3 separate regions of the Homo sapiens genome follow, and all the other regions are linked to region 1. Evidence: promoter capture Hi-C in 16 types of primary human blood cells and fetal thymus (Javierre and others, 2016). All regions are on one chromosome and are shown on one strand. The core of a region is centred on a gene start or on the middle of the fragment in contact, and the rest is flanking DNA. Distances in the headings are between cores, read along the strand shown. Region 1 holds the start of MCRS1 (microspherule protein 1). Region 2 holds the start of DHH (desert hedgehog signaling molecule). Region 3 overlaps TUBA1C (tubulin alpha 1c).

What was found. The method cuts DNA at HindIII sites, captures the fragments that hold promoters and counts their contacts. A CHiCAGO score of 5 or more calls a contact.
Region 2: a contact is called between the fragment with the promoter of DHH here and the fragment with the promoter of MCRS1 in region 1, in 14 of 17 cell types (M0 macrophages, monocytes, M2 macrophages and 11 more). The highest score is 11.3, in M0 macrophages.
Region 3: a contact is called between a fragment that was not itself captured here and the fragment with the promoter of MCRS1 in region 1, in 6 of 17 cell types (endothelial precursors, M0 macrophages, M1 macrophages and 3 more). The highest score is 14.0, in endothelial precursors.

The regions. Positions count from the first base shown.
Region 1 is chr12:49,565,880-49,570,712 of GRCh38, forward strand. It overlaps MCRS1 (microspherule protein 1), which reads right to left and starts at 2,263. Exons shown (of 15, transcript NM_006337.5): 1 at 2,169-2,263; 2 at 843-962; 3 at 198-336. The coding sequence starts at 852. RefSeq lists enhancers at 1,559-2,362, 2,713-2,762. The HindIII fragment of the contact is 9,561 bases long and covers 1-4,833 here.
Region 2 is chr12:49,092,234-49,097,066 of GRCh38, forward strand. DHH (desert hedgehog signaling molecule) reads right to left here and starts at 2,568. Exons shown (of 3, transcript NM_021044.4): 1 at 1,977-2,568. The coding sequence starts at 2,279. DHH-AS1 (DHH antisense RNA 1) reads left to right here. Exons shown (of 4, transcript XR_007063295.1): 1 at 1-109; 2 at 597-672; 3 at 1,889-1,955; 4 at 3,168-3,511. RefSeq lists an enhancer at 441-585 and a cis regulatory region at 505-522. The HindIII fragment of the contact is 10,631 bases long and covers 1-2,792 here.
Region 3 is chr12:49,265,878-49,270,710 of GRCh38, forward strand. TUBA1C (tubulin alpha 1c) reads left to right here. Exons shown (of 4, transcript NM_032704.5): 2 at 3,588-3,810; 3 at 3,951-4,099. Among named protein-coding and RNA genes, the nearest start is that of TUBA1C, 3.2 kb to the left of the region's middle. The HindIII fragment of the contact is 1,629 bases long and covers 1,285-2,913 here.

The DNA of each region.
Region 1 (4,833 bases), core at 1,013-3,512:
GACCTAAGATCTCCCTCCCCTGCCCTCAGTCCCACAGGGAAGGATTTAGCAGGGACAGGAAAAGCACAAGGCTCTGCCAATACTAAGGCCCCAGAGGGGCTCAGGCAGCCATTCCCAACAGATGGGGAGGCATGTGGCACTTAACGCCACAGACCTTCTACCCTTTCCCAGTTCCTGGCCCTCCGAACCCTTACTACCTGGAGGAGCTTCTCCGTTTAGGGATGGTGCCCAAGGCCTGGGAGGAGGCTCGCTTCTGCCCTGCCAGTGACTCCTCATCCTCTGAGCGGCTGGCAGTGCCTGATGCCATCAGGGATGAATCTAGCAGCCCCTGAGAATCTAGCAAGAGAGAAATGGTGGATTCGGGCCTCCTAAGATCCTAGAGCCTCTGCAAATGGGACCCCTCCCCAGCCCCCTTCCCCTGCCAGCCCTCTTGGCCCCTCCCCTGCCTCCTTGACACTTGAGGTTTTAAGGTAGAGTTCCTTGGCCATCCAGATCCCATCTGGGCTCAGACCTGGCCCAGACCTTCCACGCTGGGCAGTTCCCCCGGTGCCACGTGTCATGTCGTGCAGCACATGGTGCTCAGGTCAGACTGGTGATGCCGACACGCTGGGCTCTGGGCATAACTGCTCCCTCTGCCATCAAAATGCAGCCGTGCTAAAGAGCAGCAGCTCAACAGCAAGTCAGTCAACTGTGGCTCTGCCGACAGGTACATGGGTGGTGCTGGCCCAGGGGGAGGTGGCAAGGCCTAGCCAGGACCGAAAGACACACGTGCCAGGCACAGAGTGGAATCAGCAGATGCTTGGCGCCCGAGCATTTGGGGAGCTGTCCCGGCCTCATACTACCTTTGTCCATCCTCTTACAGTCCCAAAGCCACTGGTTCCAAACCACCGGGCTAGGAGGAACGGTCCCACAGGCTCATCCAAGGATTCTGACCAGGTGAGCTTAAAGGCTGAGAGGAGATTCTGCAAAGGAGAAATGAGGCTCCCTGAGGCTCAGATTTCCAACTGGCCAGCCTCACTTCCTTATACTGGCTCAGGTCCCCCAGGGTCCCATAAGCTAGGGAAGACATAAGGACAGGAAAGAGGCATAAGGCCCCACTCTGCCAATAATAGCCTTAGACATCAGTCTTGTGAAGGTCACTGGCACCTTTCAGAGTATGATAACAGCTATGGACTGCAGAAAAGGGTGCAAACACATACTATTTTAGAGGGTTCATAGACCCTTTAATTCTACTGGTATCTCCTAGGTTAAGCGCCTTGACTATAAACTAGCAAGAGACAAGGGATTCTTTGGCCCACATTTTTCTTTACTTCAGCTGTCCACTCAGCTCAGCAGCACCAGCCTTCCCCTCCCAGGCCAAAGCAGGAAAAAAGAAAGGGAGACAAAACTCCAACCAGTCCATCTCGTTTTTTTTTTGTTTTTCTTTTCCATTTGGGGTTTTTACTGAAGATTTAGTAAGTGGTATTTCCATGAGATACCATCTCGTGGAAACCAAAAACCACTGTTTGGGAACTGCGTGATTATCAACCACGCTGTGCCCCAACAACCCCTAGAGAACCCAGGTACTGGACTTTCTCGGGGCGCTCCTCTCGTGAGTCCCCACTTCTAACCAGGGTGGCTCTTAGCTCAGTGTTCTAGCCCTGTCCCCAGGTGAGCCTGTCGCTCTCCGCTCCATAGGCTACGACTAAGAATCTTGACATCTGAGGAGAGGGCGAAGGGGCCCGAGCTTGCCGGCAAACTGAGGTAGGGTCTGTGCCCCTTCCTTACCGGACCCTCCGCCCCTCGTTCTCCCAAGAGTGCACACCCAAGGTAGGGGATCGGTCCAGGTCTGTCTCAAGAACTCGGGGTAGGAGCATTGATGAAGTCACCTCTGCAACTCAAAGCAGAGCACCAAGTAGCCTTGGTTTGAGACCCACAGGCTGGTGGCTGGGGAGGTGGGGGTAAACTCGCAAGCCCATTCTCACCCCACGGTCTCCATGCCTTTGCGCATGCGTAACACTTCGAGCCAGATTCTAACCCGGTCCGGCCCACGCATGCGCAGCTTTTCGGGGCGCCACTGGGGCGGGGCCCCAAACTTGGGGGGTGGTCGTCCCCGGCGGCACTCTGCAAAACTCCATTTCATCCCCAACTCCTCTGAGAACCCTCAGAGGCGAACCGCGAGGTCTCACCATTCCTAGACTGCCAGATCCAACAATTTCTCCGCGGCGACGGTAGCAGCCGCAGGGCCAAAGCCGGCTTCCGTGAGGTACGTCTACTTCCGGTTAACGAACCAGGGGGCTGGCAATCTCTTCCGGTTCGTCTTGGCAACGTGTGTGAAGGGGGCGTGGCCATGGTACGGAAAGTGTAAATATTTTACCAATAGCGGAAAGTAAAGGCTTTCCTAGTTGGGACAGCATATAGGGAAACGTTAAGGATTATAGGCACCGGAGAGGTAACCCGGCTTGAGGGGTTGGTTAAAGGGAAAGGCGAGACTTAGGGCGAGACCGAGCGGGGCTAATTGAGGCGACCCGGGGAGGGGCGGGACCGCGGACTGGATTTCGACTTCCAAATTCCCACGAGGTATAGGAGTCTGAGGGTTGCACAGGACCTTATGCATTGTTTGACTCCTCCAGAGCCTTTAGAGAAACTTCTATCAGGCCCGCCTGCTAGGCACTAGTCGGGGAGATAATGTAGCCAGGGAGATGTGGCGGACAGAAAGGGCAGAGAGGCTCTCTGAGGAGCGGATGGAGGATCGTGGGCCGCTTTACTGAGAAGGAAGAGACCCTGCGAGAAGGAGTAGTGTCGACTTGGTCCCGTCAGCCGGACCCCACCTGGACGGCTGGGGCCACTTGTGGTCGCCGGGAGGTAAGAGAGAAAACCAATGGAAGCACCTTCAGAGGAGAGTGCCTTGGAAGGAATCTTGGGGTGGGAGAACGAACCTGTCGGAAAAATTGGGAATTTGGGGCTGTGAGAGATGTTCCGGAAAACTAGAAAGACTGTTGTCTAAAAGAGGAATTCTGTTTTATGCTTCCTTTGCGAGGTACTAAAGTCTAGCAGCTATAGAGAGACATACTTCAGCTCAGAATAAGAAAGATTCAGTTCCAAAGCTGTCCATCAGAGGTGTCAAGAACACATAACATGGACATTGCTAGGGAATTCAAGTGTCAAATGAGAGACTGGCCCTTTTGGCCCTGACGGTATACTATGGCCCTCTGCTTCGAGAGTACCAACCTCATTTACTGTTCTGTGGACTTGTTTAATGAGTATGTACTTATTTTAACTCCCATGAAAGAGTGTGTGTTTTATTTTTTAACAGGCACTTGATTAAATATATTATGTAAACTTGTGAAAATATCAGAAAACCAATGAAATTTTTTTTTTTTGAGACAGAGTCCCGCTCCATAGCCCAGGCTGGAGTGCAGTGGCACAATCTCGGCTCACTGCAACCTCCGGCCCCCGGGTCTCGGTTCAGGCAATTCTCCTGCCTCAGCCTCCCGAGTAGCTAGGATTACAGGCACGTGCCACCATGCCCAGCTAAGTTTTTTTTTTTTTTTTTTTGTAGAGACAGGTTTTCACCATGTTGGCCAGGCTGGTCTTGAACTCCTGATCTCATGATCAGGCTGCCTCGGCCTCCCAAAGTGCTGGGATTACAGGCATGAGCCACAGCACCCGGCCTGAAATAATTTTTATAAAAAGTGATTACACAGAACATTAATAATATTAATGTTATTAAATATATATGAATTCATGATAACTATTAAAAACATACAAAGGAAAAGACAGTTGAAGGAAATGCACCAGAATGTTAACACATGTCCAAGTGGTAGTAGTAGTAATTCTTCTCTCTAATTATTTTCCAGTTTTTTAATACATGGTTTTTAAATTTTGTTTTATTTTTTTTGAGACAGAGCCTTCCTCTGTCACCCAGGCTGGAGTGCAGTGGAGCGATCTCGGCTCCTGCAACCTACACCTCCCGGGTTCAAGCGATTCTCATGCCTCAGCCTCCTGAGTAGCTGGGATTGCAGGTGTGCGCCACCATGCCTGGATAATTTTTGTGTTTTTAGTAGAGATGGGGTTTCACTATGTTGACCAGGATGGTCTCAAACTCCTGACCTCAAATGATTCACGCACCTCAGCCTCCCAAAGTGCTGGGATTACAGGTGTGAGCCACTGCGCCCGGCCATATTTTACAATGAAAAAAAAAATAGGTTCTACACAACTTCTTTTTATTGATTGATTGATTTTGAGGCAGAGTCTCGCTCTGTCACCCAGGCTGGAGTACAGTGGCACAATCTCGGCTCACTGCAACCTCCACCTCCTGGGTTCAAGTGATTGTCCTGCCTCAGCCTCACAAGTAGCTGAAATTACAGGTGCCTGCCACCTGCCTGGCTTATTTTTGTATTTTTAGTAGAGACGGGGTTTCGCCATGTTGGCCAGGCTCGTCTCGAACTCCTGGCCTCAAATAATCCACCCGCCTCAGCCTCCCAAAGTGCTGGATTACAGGCGTAAGCCACTGCACTGAGCCACAACTTCCTGAGTGAAAGAGGAGAAAGGAAAACTCTTGGCTTCCAGCTGCCTGAGGTAATTCCTTCCCCCAAGGTGTCACGAGGGAAAGGTGGTGGTCACCATCATCTCCTGTTTGGTACCTGGAAACTCAAACTTCCCCTCTGGTCCTCAATCCTCCCTACTATTGGATAAAAAGAAACCTAGGCACCCTTGTGGTATGGATGCAGGGATTTCTAAAGGGCAGCTTCCTGCTCAAGATTGTGTTTTCTGTTTACACAGCGTGGTGGACTATACTAGCTATAGTTAGTATATATAGTATAGTATCTATACTAGATGAAAGTTCTCAGG
Region 2 (4,833 bases), core at 1,318-3,817, 470 kb before region 1:
GAGAGCCCCTATCTCTCCCATCTCTGCTCTAGATGCAGCCCAGAAGGGCGTGGGAGTAGCACCTGAGAATAACGGTCTCCTTGTGCGGATCTGGGGAGCCCCCTGCAGGGTGAGAGCGGAGAAGAGGAAAAGAAGCTGCGGCTGGAAGCCTGCACCTGGGGGAGTGAGACCACAGTTATCTTGGCCGCTCCAGCCTGGGAGCGGGAGACCTTGGCGCGCACCATAGCAGGGACACCGCGGGAGGAGGCGCAGAGGGACAGCTTCCTTTTTTTCTTTCCCCTCCGACCTCTCACCTCGGACTTGGTTTTCTCCTAACAGAAAGACACTTTTCCCCTCTCCTCTAGTCTCCTCCACCCCGCAGAGTTGGGGTTGGGTGGGGGGAAAACAGGAAAAGTGGTAGCTCCTTCCAACTTTGTCGTTTCGTCCCCTAAGGAGGCCCCGAGGCCCTGACCTGCGGGGGCAGCAGCCCAGTGCAGAGCCAACTCAATGGAGGCCTTTTGCAGCCAGGGTGTGGGAGATAAGTAAGACTGAGGGGGCTCCCAGGCCTGCCGGAGCCCCTCCTGAGCCTGTCCCTTGTTCTGCCCACTCTGCTGCAGGTGGCAACCAGAGGAAAGGGCCACAATGTTCCACGGCCAAGGAGGAAAGAAGGAATGCCCCTTTTCCCATCTCTAGGTAGGAGGAAGGCTTCAGGGCAGAAGCAAAAGGAATTATTTCTTCCCTGGACAGGTTTTCCTAACAAAGTAACCTGGAAAACTATGGCAATTAATCAGAGGAAATCCGTACCCCTCCCTCTCCCCCCACCTCCCCACTCCATACACAATTAGGTGGTGTAATGGAAAGTATATAGGGCTTAGAATCAGGAGTCCTGAATTCTAGTCCCAGCCATGCCACTTTAAATTGTGAGAGTTTAAATTGCTTTTCCTCCTGGGGGAAGTCCAGCTCTCAGATGTAAAATGAGGGTGGCAGTGGGGGTGGGGAGGGTTGGAGGAATGTCATCTCTCAAGTTTTCTTTCAGTTCTAACATTCAAGATCACTGGCCAGGCTGGATGAAGTGGCTCACACCTGTAATCCAGCACTTTGGGAGGCCGAGGTGGGAGGATCCCTTGAGCTCAGGAGTTCAAGACTAGCCTAGGCAACATGGCAAGACCCCGTCTCTACAAAAAATAAAAAATAAATCACTCGCCAGAGGTGGTCCTTCTCTTCCACCTCACTCTAGGTGGTTCCAATGCTCAAAAATGGTAGTTGAATTTATCCTAATTATGTAATTCCAAGGAAAGCCCCTGAGATAGGCAGAGCTTGGAAGACTTAGGAGCCCTCTGATTCTCAGGTGGGTCCATCTGTTATTCTCACTGAGGATTACTTTTTAACCCCAAGATTATCGTTTAGACCCTAGGATAGCCCTAGAATAGACCCTAGAATAGATGTGTCCTGGTTCTAGGACACGTTTCCCATGCCAAAAGCAATGTCTGCCCAGCCCCTCCTCAGGTAGATGGTCTGGTGACCTGACCCTTGGCCACCCCTGTCCCAGCCCTTTTCAGTCTCTTCTTTTCGGCCCACAGAGCTTTTCTACAATCAGGTCAGGAGCCAGGCTTCTGTCTGCTACCTAGCCAGCTCCTGGCCCCCAGCTCACCCCAGCCCTTCCTGCCTGGCTGGGTGGCTGACCCCCGGTCCACGCCTCAGCCATTTCCCGTCTCGCCTGCCGCCATCCTCCTTTCCCCGCCCTCGCTGCCTCTACCAGCTTCACTCTCACTAGTCAGTCCCTCCTCCCCTCCCCATCCCAGACTATTCTAGTCGGGAGCCGTCCTAATTACTCTGTCCAGACTGCAAGGATTTTTCCCCCCCCTGGGGCTGGTGACAAGGGAAATCTCTAAGGCTAAACTCTCTGTAGGTGAAGCTGGACTCACCCACCTGGGCTGCCATAGGAAAACGGAGGAGCTGGCAGTGCCCCGGCGCAGGTAGGGAGAGGCCCTCCTTACCTCGGTCATCAGGCGGTCGGCTCCACTGTTCTCCTCATCCTTGAAGATGATGTCGGGGTTGTAGTTGGGCACGAGGTCCCGGAAGCGCTCGGAGCCCCTTGCCACCCTCCCCTCCGCTGGCCCACTGGCGCCCAGGGTCCGCTCTGGCACGCCGGGCACAAATTGCTTGTAGAGTAGCGGCACGAGCTGCTTGCGCGCATAGCGGCGCCGGCCAACCGGCCCCCGGCCCGGCCCGCAGCTCTGGGCTGGCAGCGCCAGAAGTGCCAAGCAGCACAGGGGCAGTAGATTGGTCAGGAGAGCCATGGATACAGCGGACCTCGGCCAAAAGGGAGCGTTCTTGTCCTCACTAACTCTCCTGTCAGTTAGGCATCTCCACAGGCACCAGAGAGGGCAGCAGGCACAGCTGCCCCCAGAGTGCCCTAGAGCTCTTGTGGCTCCGTGCACCTGGCTGCTGCTAGCTCTGCCCACGTGCCCCGGGAGCGGGCGGGGGGTGTCTAGGACCTGCTACTGACAAACCATCATAGCAGGGAAGGGGGGTCGTGGGTGAGTGCCAGCCCAGCCCGTCTCTGCTGCAGGACTCTGGTGCTGCCAGAACGCCCGGACTCCGGACTCCGCCTTAAGTGGCCCCTGGCCCCGCCCTCCGCCCTTCTCCCAAGACCGTCCCACCCCCTCCCACCCGGGCGGGGGATCTAGCCGGTCACTGCTGGTCCATTTTGCGACTGAAGTGTGTCCCATCCTGGAAACCAGGCAGACACCTGCCTAGGAAATACTTGTAGCTTTACAGTCCTTGGCTGCCTAAACATCCTTCTACCTCCAAGCTTAAACTTGGAACCAAACCACCCTCCTCTGATACTTGAATTGGAATTTTTACTCTCTCAAAGCCTACCCTGGCAGGCCATGCCCTCCGCTGTCATCCAGGAAGTATGGGTTCCAATTTCTGCCCAAGACCAGCCAAGCCCTTTGGGCATACAACCAGAGCCTCCCTTCTCTGTAGTCCTCCCCAGATCTCCCCGACTTCCATCTCTCCTCACATTCAGCATTAAGCAGGACTGGGAGGTGAGGATACCAGGGGCCCATTTCTCTACTAACTTTGCAGTCTCCTTTGGAACTTCCCCAGAACCAGGAACAGAGCTTGGTACTTATTGTCTCATTTAGGACTTCCAACTTTTTTCCCCTTCTCTTCTTTGCCAGGCATCTAATAGCTGCTGTTTTTCAAATGAATGACTTCTCAGTTGGAAGCTGCTGAAGGGCAGTGGACACTCAAAAGTCTTTGTAAGAGGTGAGGATCACTTCCCTTAACCGTCCATCTAGGCACCTCTCCAGCTTTCTCCCTCTCTGGACTCCCGGGGCTCCATTTTCAGCCACTCAGATCTCATCTCAGAGGCACCACGTCCAATTTCTTTTGTTTAGAAGTCATTTCTTCTAAGAAGCCTTCCTTGATGTCCCAACACTGCCCACCTGTGTTCCCTCGAGAACCATTACTTAACTGCAGTGTTAGAACAGTATTAGAATTATCTGGCACCTTACTAGACAAAGCAATCTTAAGCACACACATATTTATCATGTATCTCCAAGGTTAAGTGCCTACTCTACAGAAGGGTGCTTTGCAAGCATTTGTGGAATCTACACTTTGTGTTTCATATTCACCCTCCCCTCACCACACTCTATGGCTAGTACTCATAGCAACTTTGTGTACATCAGAAAAAACCAGGCCAGGCACAGTGGCTCACTCCTGTAATCCCAACACTTTGGGGGCGAGGCAAGGACTGCTTGAGGCCATGAGTTGAAGACCAACTTGGTCAACATAGTGACACCCCGTTTCAAAAAAAAAAAATTAATTAGTGGGAGGTAGTGGTACATGCCTGTAGTCTTAGGTACTCAGGAGGCTGAGGAAGGAGGATCACTTGGGTGCAAGAGTTCAAGGCTGTAGAGTGAGCTAAGATCATGCCACTGCACTCTAACCTGGGTGACAGAGTGAGGACCCCCCCCCCCAAAAAAAAGATGGCTGGGTGTTGTGGCTAACCCCTGTAATTCCATCATTTGGGGAGTCCAAGGTAGGTGGATCACTTGAGCTCAGGAGTTCAAGACCAGCCCAGGCAACATGGCAAAACCCCATCTCTACTAAAAATACAAAAATTAGCCAGGCATGGTAGCATGTGTCTGTTGTCCTAGCTATTCTGGAGCCTGAGCTGGAAGAATGGCTTGAGCCCAGAATGCGGAGGTTGCAGTGAGCTGAGATTGCACCACTGCACTCCAGCCAGGGTGATAGAGCCAGACCTTGTCTCACAAAAAAAAAAAAAAAAAAAAGAAGAAGAAAAAAGAAAAAAAAAGCACCCCTTCCTCAAGATGACTGACATTTATTAGAAAACTATCATAGTAACTATCCACACAATGACTATGAGGTGAATGGTGTCCCTGGAAGCTGTGCAATACACAATCTGTATAAGCCTAAGTTTTGCGCTCTTACTCCCAACATAGCACATGGGCTTTTCAAGAAACTGATGGCCTCTAGTAAAAAGCTAGATTCTTCTCTCAGGTAGGAAATGAAAATCCTTGTCAGCCAGCCACTTATTTTACTCTATATCCAATAGTTAAGCCAGGGAGGATAGGGCTGAAGGTATGAGTGTATCGGGGAGGTTAGCCTACTCCTATGCCCATGTCCTACCCCCAATACTCAAGGTACAGAAACAAGGCCATGAATATAAGGAGGAGTCAGGGGACAAGCCAGCTTTAAGCAAGACTGAGGATGGAGGAGTTTCCCACTGCCCAACTGCATGGCCTAACACCAGATCCAAGTCCCCAAAGGATGGTAATAATATAGATGAAGGGGAAGGAAAAGGATGGTGGGCAGGACCCC
Region 3 (4,833 bases), core at 849-3,348, 300 kb before region 1:
GGCGCAGTGGCTCACGCCTGTAATCCCAGCACTTGTTCGAGACAAACCTGGCGAACATGGTGAAACCCCGTCTCTACTTTAAAAAAAAAAAAAAACAAAAAAAAACGCTGGGCGTGGTGGCGCGCGCCGGTAATCCCAGCTACTCGGGAGGCTGAGGCAGGAAAATCGCTTGAACCCAGGAGGCGTAGGTTTCCCTGAGCCGAGATCGCGCTACTGCACTCCAGTCTGGACGACAGAGCGAAACTGTCTCAAAAAAACGCAAACCCGGCCCGGCGCGGTGGCTCACGCCTGTAATCCCAGCACTTTGGGAGGCTGAGGCTGGTGGATCACGAGATCAGGAAATCGAGACCATCCTGGCTAACACGGTGAAACCCCGTCTCTACTAAAAAAAAAAAAAAAAAAATTAGCTGGGCGTGGTGGCAGGCGCTTGTAGTCTCAGCTACTCGGGAGGCTGAGGCAGGAGAATGGCGTGAACCCGGGAGGCGGAGCTTGCAGTGAGCCGAGATCGCGCCACTGCACTCCAGCCTGGGCGACAGAGCAAGACTCCGTCCAAAAACAAAAAAAAACCCGCAAACCCCAGAGTAAACTAGTACCACGTGTTCTTAGTTCAGTTTTCAAGAAACGTGAAATTATACGTAACTTGAGTGTTTTCTATAAAGCTTCCAGAAGTATTGAAAACAACTATCTTAGGCCGGGCGCGATGGCTTATGGTTGTAATCCCAGCACTTTGGGAGTCCGAGGCGGGAGGACCGCTTGAGCTCAGGAGGTCGAGACCAGCCTGGGCAACACGGTGAAACTCCGTCTATACTAAAAATACAAAAATTATCTGGGCGTCGTGGTGCGTGCCTGTAGTCCCAGCTTCTCGGGAGGCAGGGGTGGGAGGATCTTTTGATCCCGGGAGGTGGAAGCTGCAGTGAGCCCAGATCGCACCACTGCACTCCAGCGAGACCTTATCTCAAAAATACGTACATGAATTTAAATATAAAAATCAAATGTAAATACATGTATATGTCGCACTGTAACAACTTATTGCTTCTTTTCAAGCAGTACCAAAAAGATACTGGTAAAAGTGGGATTCACAAAGTAGTGAGACCCTTTAAAAAGCAGGAGAGCGGCAGCGGACTGGTTTAGGTGAACACTGGTTAAATTTTCTTGTTTTTTAACGAGAGGTAAGAGCTGCTTATCCAGTTAACACTAGACCAATTGACTCCACCTGTGCCTCACTTTCTCCCACGTGGCCAGGGGAGAGTGGAGGGTAAGTCAGTGGCCGCTGACTGCCTGCTAAGCTTCAAGAAGGCAGTTTAGACTGAGCAATGAAAGAAAAATTGCGGGCGCAAAATAGAAACGGCATTTAAACAGAAGAAGCATTTGTTAGAATGAGTGGATCTTCTCAGATACTTTATCTCCTTGGGCCTGGGGGCCATCATGATCAGGTATCTGGTTATCTCCAGCTTTTTGGGGCTTGGGCGTTTCCAAAGTCCAGTTAAAGGTAAACATGATGCCGGGCGTGGTGGCTCCCGCCTATAATCCCAGCACTTTGGGAGGCCGAGGTGAGTAGATCACCCGAGGTCAGGAGTTCAAGACCAGCCTGGCCAACATGGTGAAACCCCATCTCTACTAAAAATACGAAAATAAGGCAGGCATGGTGGTGGGCACCTGTAATCCCAGCTACTTGGGAGGCTGAGGCAGGAAAATCGCTTGAACCTGGAAGGCGGAGTTTCCACTGCACTCCAGCCTGGGCGACAGAGCGAGACTTTTTCTCAAAAAGGTAAACATGATGCAATGGTAAATAGTCATGGGCTAATTAGAACAAACTACTCCTGTTCTCCCACACCCCTGGAGCTGGGTGAGTAGACCCAGGTGATACTGAGCTTGCTGATGTGGTTAAGAGACCTTGATTGTTTCATGGGGAGTGTAGGTGGGAAGGAGGTCAAAGGTTGTGAGTAATTAGGGTTTTTATTATCTCTTGGCTTATGAGACCAGGTCCTTTGAGAACTTAGTGCTCTGCCAGTCTCCAAAGTGGCTAATCTGACTTATGATGAAATGCCAAACACCCTTTTTGTTTTCCTGTTAAGTCTGTGTGTACAGATTCTATGTTTATTCCCTTATTTTACTTAGCAGGTGTGGGTTTGGTAATTTCTAACCATATTCTGCTTTGGCCCCTCTGGCCTTTCTAAATTAACTTGGTCCACCTCATAAATATATATCTATGAGAGAGAGACACACACACACAGACACAGACACAGAGTCTTGCCTCTGTTGCCCAGGCTGGAGTGCAGTGGCGAGATCTCTGCAACCGCCACCTCCTGGGTTTGGGTTCAAGTGATTCTCATGCCTCAGTCTTCCGAGTAGCTGGGACTACAGGCGCGCACCACCATGCCTGGCTAATTCTTGTATTTTTAGTAGAGATGGGGTTTCAGCATATTGGCCAGGCTGTTCTTGAACTCCTGACCTCAGATGATCCACCCACCTCGGTCTCCCAAAGTCCTGGGATTACAGGCATGAGCCACTGTGCTCTACCATAATTTTTTTTTTTTTTGTATTTTTAATAGAGACAGTTTCACCATGTTGGCCAGGCTGATTTCAAACTCCTGACCTCAAGTGATCTGCTCACCTTGGCCTCCCAAAGTGCTGGGATTACAGGTGTGAGCCAGAAACAACTAATTTCTTAACCTATCAGTAAAGTCTTGGTAACATTTCTAGCCTTTATTATTATGGTCTTCCCTCTTCCGGAGATGTTTTGACGGTGAAGGAAAAACGTTCTTCCTATAGATTAGATTCTTCCACTTGGTTAAAAAGCTGCCTCTGACCACAGTTTTTAAAATACAGCTAACTGCTGCTTATCCAGCATTTTCTTCATGAGTCATGGCTATAGTTTGCTGGTTTAAGCTGGTTTTAAAGGAGGGAGAGAGAAGCTTTTGTCTCCTAAAGAATAGGATTAAAGCGGGACCAGAATGAGCTCAGTAGTTACACAATCATTCAGAGAATGAATCAGAGCTGGAAAGGGGAATTTTGCCTTAGTTTAAGGAATCATATCTACTGTGGCTACAAAGCAACTGTCTGGTCTTGCCGAGTAGTTCATGAACACATCTTTGGTTTTCCAAGGCACTTTTGCTGAATTAGGTCTTCAAAGATTTTTGCTTTTGAAATTATAGTCCCTGAGCAGGAGTGGCCTGCTGAAAGATGGTTATCTTTTTTTGTTTGAGATGGAATATCTTGTCACTCAGGCTGGAGGGCAGTGGTGTGATCTCAGCTCACTGCAACCTCCACCTCCTGAGTTCAAGTGATTCTCCTCCCTCAGCCTCCCAAGTAGCTGGGACTACAGGTGTGCGCCATCATGCCTGGCTAATTTTTTTTGTATTTTTAGTAGAGATGCAGTTTTGCCATGTTGGCCAAGCAGATCTCAAACTCCTGACCTCAGGTGATCCACCTGCCTCAGCCTCCCAAAGTACTGGGATTACAGGTGTGAGTCACTGCGCCCAGCCAGTTATCTGTCTTGAAGGTTAATCAGTCATTAGGTGTGAATCATTCCTAAATGTCCCATCTGATGTATTATACCCTGACATTTTCCTTTCTTCCTCCCACAGCGTGAGTGCATCTCCATCCACGTTGGCCAGGCTGGTGTCCAGATTGGCAATGCCTGCTGGGAGCTCTACTGCCTGGAACACGGCATCCAGCCCGATGGCCAGATGCCAAGTGACAAGACCATTGGGGGAGGAGATGATTCCTTCAACACCTTCTTCAGTGAAACGGGTGCTGGCAAGCATGTGCCCCGGGCAGTGTTTGTAGACTTGGAACCCACAGTCATTGGTGAGTTGACCTCAGTAACCCAAGTGAGATCCCAGGGTGCTGGGACAGGAGGTCTGTCCTGGGGGGGCTCCGCTGGTCACTCACCCACTCTCCCTCCCCGCTCCTTGTCCCTCCTCCTCCTCCCCCATCATGTTCTCCAGATGAAGTTCGCACTGGCACTTACCGCCAGCTCTTCCACCCTGAGCAACTCATCACAGGCAAGGAAGATGCTGCCAATAACTATGCCCGAGGGCACTACACCATTGGCAAGGAGATCATTGACCTCGTGTTGGACCGAATTCGCAAGCTGGTAAGTATAGTACTTTAAATAAAGTGGGATGAGAGTTTCTTTTGCAGTTCTGAGACCAAACTACAGAAATCATTCTTTGCAACTAAAATGAGACTATTTGCATTGCAACTAAAATGTATCTGTTCACTAAATTAATTGGATTTCTGAACCAGATGATCTTGGATTTATGGGACAACTATGGGGTAGAAGTAAGTGCTCTTTAGCCTATTTTGCTTCAAGCTGAGACACCCCTTTTGAGGTCATCTTAGTCATACTGAGTGAGTAGGTAGCTGACTTCTACATGTAACTAATTGATCAGAGTCATTTTTTAAAAATCTGGGATGGTTCCTTCATGTCAATACAGAAAGTTCAGAGAACAAGAAGCCAGTGTCACACTGACAAGAAACAGCCAATACTGGAAACTTCCAGTACTGCTGAAAGTGGAGTCGGGAGCTTCCTTATGAAGTGTGCTGTTTGGATCACTTTAATTAAGAGCCTGGCAATCAGATGACTCTTTGCTCCTTAGGCATGTGGGCAGCTTGTAAGTAATTAACCAGAGATCAAGCATGATGGTCTGGGCAGAGTAACTTGTCAAGAAAATCACATTGTATTAAGCCCAGCCATGACTGCTCCATTCTAAAATAGAATAGCCTCATCATTCATGGCTTCATACTTTCTCAGATGTTTACGTAGTCTTCCCAGCAAAACTGGACTGATGTTTCCGATGCTTAAAAACTAAGCTTTAGGCTGGGCAC